2 separate regions of the Homo sapiens genome follow, and region 2 is linked to region 1. The links are contacts of gene promoters, found by promoter capture Hi-C in human tissues and cell types (Jung and others, 2019). All regions are on one chromosome and are shown on one strand. Each heading gives the region's core, a stretch centred on a gene start or on the middle of the fragment in contact. The rest is flanking DNA. Distances are from core to core; before and after follow the strand shown.

Region 1 (2,957 bases), core at 279-2,778:
CTCCTCTCCCGGCCCAACCACCCGCGTCCCCCATGAATTCTCAGCGTGAACGCACGCTGTACATTGGACTCCGTGCCCAGACAGCACTATTCTTGCTGGTTTTCATGAATGAAAGTGTGTATGTGTTGGGGGGAGGGGGTGGCGGACAGTGCATAATGTTAGGGGCACCGAGCTGTCCACTCCGGGATGGAGTCTGAACCCGGGTGGGTGCCATTCCTGCTGATCCCAGCCTCGCCCCTTTGGAAGATGTGATGGGGAGCGTCTGCCGTCGGGGTGCCGGGCTTCGCTGCAAGGGACTGCTCCCGCCAGCTTCCGGCGAGGCCTGAGCCGGCGGACTGCGTGTCAGAGGCACCTGGTTCAGGCCAAAGAGGCCGGGGCGCCGGCTCCAGGTCCTCTAGGTTCCAGCGCCATTCATCCTCCCTCACGCGCCGCGCCAACCGGAGACCCCCGCTGCAGAGGGCCGAAGTTAAAGTCCCAGCTGCGCCGCTCAGTAGGGAGATTACACAGGGAGAAAAATGAATCACCCGGCCCGGGGTTGCGGGACTGCGAGGGCCTGCGCGCCAAGGCCCCCAGGGGCGTCGGGAGGGGCCGCGGGCTGAGCTAAAGAGAAAAGCCTGACGGCTGGGAGCCCGGCGCCTTTATCCGGTTAGGGGATTGCAGAGGATCAGAGAGCCCGCCGCCCCTTCTCCTCCATCACCGAGCACTAAGCCCCGGGCGTCCGAGATCCCGGGTGTGATTTTATCATTAAAAAAAGTAACCGCGCACTCCTAAAAGAATTTTAATTCTCGCCTCCTCCTCAGCCTACCTTTCTCTTTGAATCCCCAAGGGAAAATAGTCCCCTGGGTTGGGGGGCAGTCCTTCGCCGCTGCCTTCCCCCGGCCCTGCTCCCTCCAGGCCACTGACTCAACCTCCCCCGGCGCGGCGCGGACTCGAGAAGACGCGGCGCCCGCTCCCGACTTGGAGCCGGGGAAGTGGGTCCTTCCCGGACTGGCGGTCCGGGGACAGCGTGACAGGAGGAAATGTATGGGGTGGGGTCGCGGCTGCAAGCCCTACCCGTCCCCAGCGGGAGCCAGCCCTGCTCCTTCTGCCTCCCGCCCCGACGGCTCAGCGGGCTCGGCCCAGCGCGGCTGTGGGACGTGAGTAAAAGGGGGTGCGATCGGCTTGGGGAGCACGGGGAGGGCTTCCTGTCCTTTGAACTGGACTGGAGGGGTATGGGAGCCGGGGAGTGGGAGCCGAGGCCGTAGCCGATCCTTTTTCACTTTCTCTCCAGCCCGCGGCCCGTTTCAGCACCGGGGGCTGCGGACAGCGCCGCGCCCGCCCCTGGAAGCAGCAGCATCCCTCCCCTGCGTGTGGTTCTCTAACTTACCTCCTGTATGGGGTCTGCGGCCCCAGCACACCTCCCGGCGCCCCCCAAAAAATTCCAGCTCAAGAGCCCCTAAAAATCCTTACCCTGCCAAAGTTTGAGCTTCTCCGCGGCGCGCCAGGGTCTGCGGAGCGCCTCCTCCCTCGGCCTCCTAGGCGCAGTTCCGCTCGCTCCCTCCCCCGCGCTCCCGGCCCAGGACTCTGCTCGGCGACTGCTGAAGGAGCCTGTGGCCTCCCTCTCCGTGGGAAAGTAAGGTGAGGCTCTGGAGCCTCAAAGGCGGTCCGAAAGAGGCAGAAGTCATTAGTTCACATCCCCAACCCTCCCAGGGAGGACGGGGAGAGTCAGGGGCAAGAAAGCAAACAAGTCCGTCGTTCCGTTCTGGGTTCTCTCCTAACTGTGGGCGGCCACCCTGGACTCCTTCCTGGGATGTTTTGCTGGTAGTGTAATCCACACTGGATGAGTAAGCAACAGAGATCTGGGGTTTGAAGTTTAAAGGTGGGGACACACACACACACACACGCACAAAGTCTTGGACCCGTTTGCCATCTTAGGGAAGATGTTAGAAACAAGTTTCTCTTTGGGACAATGTGTATTCTCCTTGCAGAGTTTTTGTTTCCTTCCATCACATCAGATAACATCGGATTTCCTGAACTAAAAATTAAAACCACCAATCCAGCTAGTAATTATTTAACCCCTATTGAAGCCCAAGGAACTTAAACTCTTTTTGGAGAAAATAACTTTATTTACTAAAACTCATTTTCCTCCCAGAAGGTGTACTTCCAAGAACACACCTCTCCATGAAGGATGAAGACCGAATCCTGCCTTTCCCTCACCAGCAATTGCATGCTCTGGTTCTGGATCGCAGGAGCAGGTCCCGGGAGGAATCCAAGCCTCCTTGCCTGGGACAAGCCTCTTGGGTTCCAGGTTCTCTTGACTGATACCCTCATGGGAAGAAACTCCACAAAAGCAGATCCCACCGCAGCCAGCTAACCAGAGCTTCTCTGAGGACTTGGAGTACATGGCATTTCCTAGCATACTTATCAAATCGCCTGTTAATTGAACACATTATCTTTAGAAGGCTTAAGTTCATCGAGTTCATGCAATACTTGAAGGGAGAGATGAAGTGTATGTTTTTCACTGAAGAAATAAAGAATTAGAATGGCTCACACACACATGTGCATGTGTGCACACATGTCATGTCTTAAAGGGGGGAAGTAAAACCTAGACAAATTTTCCCCCAAAGAAAATCAGGCTTAGTCGTTCAGATTCAAGGGACTCTGGTAGTGGAAGAGCAAATAAATGGAAGTGGTGAATCAACAAAAGGAAGCCAAAGCCACAGAAGTTGGAAGAGAGGAGAATTCTTATTTTATTACTTGGGCTTCTGAAAGGAACCTGAAATTATAATAATTTCAAGAGAAAATATAATAGATGAGACTTTGCCTCATTGAGGACTTCAGTATTCTTATTCCAGGGAATCTCCACGTGCCTCAATTATGAATCTCCACGTGCCTCAGTTGTTATGTGCATTTTTTTTATAGTTCTCATTGTCAGGAAATGCTTTATTTCTTCTAATCTCATTAATTTATGCAACAAG
Region 2 (2,957 bases), core at 311-2,810, 470 kb after region 1:
AGTCTGTGTCTTTAATTGGGGCATTTAGCCCATTTACATTTAAGTTTAATATTGTTATGTGTAAATTTGATCCTGTTATTATGATGCTAGCTGGTTGTTTGCCTGTTAGTTGCAGTTTCTTCATAGTGTTGATGTTCTTTACAATTTAGTATATTTTTACAGTGGATGCTACTGGTTGTTCCTGTCCATATTTAGTGCTTCCTTCAGGAGCTCTTGTAAGGCAGGCCTGGTGGTGACAGAATATCTCAGCATTTGCTTGTCTGTAAAGGATTTTATTTCTCCTTCACTTATGAAGCTTAGTTTGGCTGGATATGAAATTCTGGGTTGAAAATTCTTTTCTTTAAGGATGTTGAATATTGGGCCTCACTCTCTTCTGGCTAGTAGAGTTTCTGCAGAGAGATCCGCTGTTAGTCTGATGGGCTTCCCTTTGTGGGTAACCCAACCTTTCTCTCTGGCTGCGCTTAACATTTTTTCCTTCATTTCAACCTTGGTGAATCTGACGATTATGTGTCTTAGGGTTGCTCTTCTCGAGGAGTGTTGTTGTGCTGTTCTCTGTATTTCCTGAATTTGAATGTTGGCCTGTCTTGCTAGATTGGAGAAGTTCTCCTGGATAATATCCTGAAGAGTGTTTTCTAGCTTGGTTCCATTCTCCTTGTCACTTTCAGGTACACCAATCAAACGTAGATTTGGTCTTTTCACATAGTCCCATATTTCTTGGAGGCTTTGTTCATTCCTTTTTATTCCTTTTTCTCTAATCTTGTCTTTGCTCTTTATTTCATTAAGTTGATCTTCAATCACTGATATCCTTTCTTCCACTTGACCAATTCGGCTGTTGAAACTTGTGTATGCTTCACAAAGTTCTCGTGCTGTATTTTTCAGCTCCATCGGGTCATTTATGTTCTTCTCTACACTGGTTATTCTAGTTAACAATTTGTCTAACCTTTTTTTCAAAGTTCTTGGCTTCCTTGCATTGGATTAGAACATACTTCTTTAGCTTGGAGGAGTTTGTTATTACCCACCTTCTGAAACCTACTTCTGTCAGTTCGTCAAACTCATTCTCCATCCAGTTTTGTTCCCTTGCTGGCGAGGAGTTGTGATCTTTGGAGGAGAAGAGACCTTCTGATTTTTGGAATTTTCAGCCTTTTTGTGCTGGTTTATCCCCATCTTTGGATTTATCTACCTTTGGTCTTTGATGTTGGTGACCTTTGGATGGCATCTTTGAGTGGACGTGCTATTCCTTTCTGTTAGTTTTCCTTCTGACAGGCTCCTCTGCTGCTGGTCTGCTGGAGTTTGCTGGAGGTCCACTCCCGACGCTGTTTGCCTTGGTATCAGCAGCGGAGGCTGCAGAACAGCAAAGATTGCTGCCTGATCATTCCTCTGGAAGCTTCTTCCCAGAGGGGCACCTGCCAAATGCCAGCTAGAGCTCTCCTGTATGAGGTGTCTGTTGGCCCCTACTGGGAGTTTTCTCCCAGTGAGGATACACGGCGGTCAGGGACCCACTTGAGGAGGCAGTCTGACCTTCAGCAGAGCTCGAACGCTGTGCTGGGAGGTCCACTGCTCTCTTCAGAGCTGCCAGGCAGGGATGTTTAAGTCTGCTGAAGCTTCGGCCACAGCTGCCCCTTTCCCCAGGTGCTCTGTCCCAGGGAGCTGGGGATTTATCTATAAGTCCCTGACTGGGGCTGCTGCCTTTTTTTCAGAGATGCCCTGCCCAGAGAAGAGAAATCTGGCAGTCTGGCCACAGCGGCCGTGCTGAGCTGCAGTGGGCTCTGCCCAGTTCGAACTTCCCCGTGACTTGTGACTTTGTTTACACTGTGATTGTAAAACCACCTACTCAAGCCTTAGCAATGGCGGACGCCCCTCCCCCCACCAAGCTCCATTGTCACAGGTTGACCTCAGACTGCTTCTGTGCTGGCAGCGAGAACTTCAAGCCAGTGAATCTTAGTTTGCTGGGCTCCATGGGGGTGGGACCCACTGAGCCAGGCCACTTGGGTCCCTGGCTTCAGCACCCCTTTCCAGGGGAGTGAATGGTTCTGTCTTGCTGGTGTTCCAGGTGCCAATGGGGTATGGAAAAAAAAGAACTCATGAAGTTAGTTCGGTGACTGCCCAAACGGCCGCCCAGTTTTGTGCTTGAAACCCAGGGCCCTGGTGGGGTAGGCACCGGAGGGAATCTCCTGGTTTGCAGCTTGCAGAGACCATGGGACAAGCGCAGTATCTGTGCCAGAGTTCCTCAGGTTCAGTCCCTGACAGCTTCCTTTGGGTAGAAGAGAAAATTCCCTGACCCCTTGTGCTTCACAGATGAGGTGATGCCCCACCCTGCTTCGGCTCGCCCTCCGTGGGCTGTACCCACTGTCTAACCAGTCCCAGTTGGAAATGTAGAAGTCACCCGCCTTCTGCATCCATCTCGCTGGGAGCCGCAGACTGGAGCTGTTCCTGTTCGGCCATCTTGCCAGCAATTGGTTTTTATTGCGGTTGGGGAGCAAGGCTGGAGTGGGTTTGCATGATTGGAACTTCTCACTAGCTCCGAGAGAGAAGGGCTTTTTGATTGGCTTGCCCAGGTTTGGGGCTAAAGGTAAAGGGGCATCATTGGGGCTTGAAAACTATCAACAGTTGAATATCAAAAATGGAGTTAGAGTCTTTCTAACTCATGGCATCTTCTAAAAAGTATCAGGCCCTTCAGGAAGGGTGCATCTAGAATTTCCCTTGCTTCTTTCTTGACCCCAGTGCTGACTCCTGTCATTACCCTGATCATTCCTACTCTCCTGTAGAATTTGTTTCACAATAAACAGATCAAATTAGCTTTCTTTGTTTTCAGACTTTTTGTTTAAATTTATTCTTTAAGCCTACCTGTATTCTCTCTGCCCTTCCTCCCTTTCCCTCCCCCTCTTTTCTTTTCCCCCTTTCTCTCCTCTTCTCTCCTTGTAACAATCCCATGGGGCAATCTAGACACCACTGGCTCC

Evidence for each region. The method cuts DNA at HindIII sites, captures the fragments that hold promoters and counts their contacts. A contact is called where the count stands out against the background at its distance.
Region 2: a fragment that was not itself captured here is called in contact with the fragment with the promoter of CNGA3 in region 1 in 3 of the 25 tissues and cell types used here (heart left ventricle, heart right ventricle and thymus).

Annotation. Positions count from the first base shown.
Region 1 is chr2:98,345,027-98,347,983 of GRCh38, reverse strand. CNGA3 (cyclic nucleotide gated channel subunit alpha 3) reads right to left here and starts at 1,528. Exons shown (of 8, transcript NM_001298.3): 1 at 1,450-1,528. RefSeq lists an enhancer at 517-1,028. The HindIII fragment of the contact is 6,521 bases long and covers 1-2,957 here.
Region 2 is chr2:97,871,965-97,874,921 of GRCh38, reverse strand. The region is part of intron 4 of TMEM131 (transmembrane protein 131); the gene reads left to right. Among named protein-coding and RNA genes, the nearest start is that of TMEM131, 120 kb to the left of the region's middle. The HindIII fragment of the contact is 4,393 bases long and covers 1-2,957 here.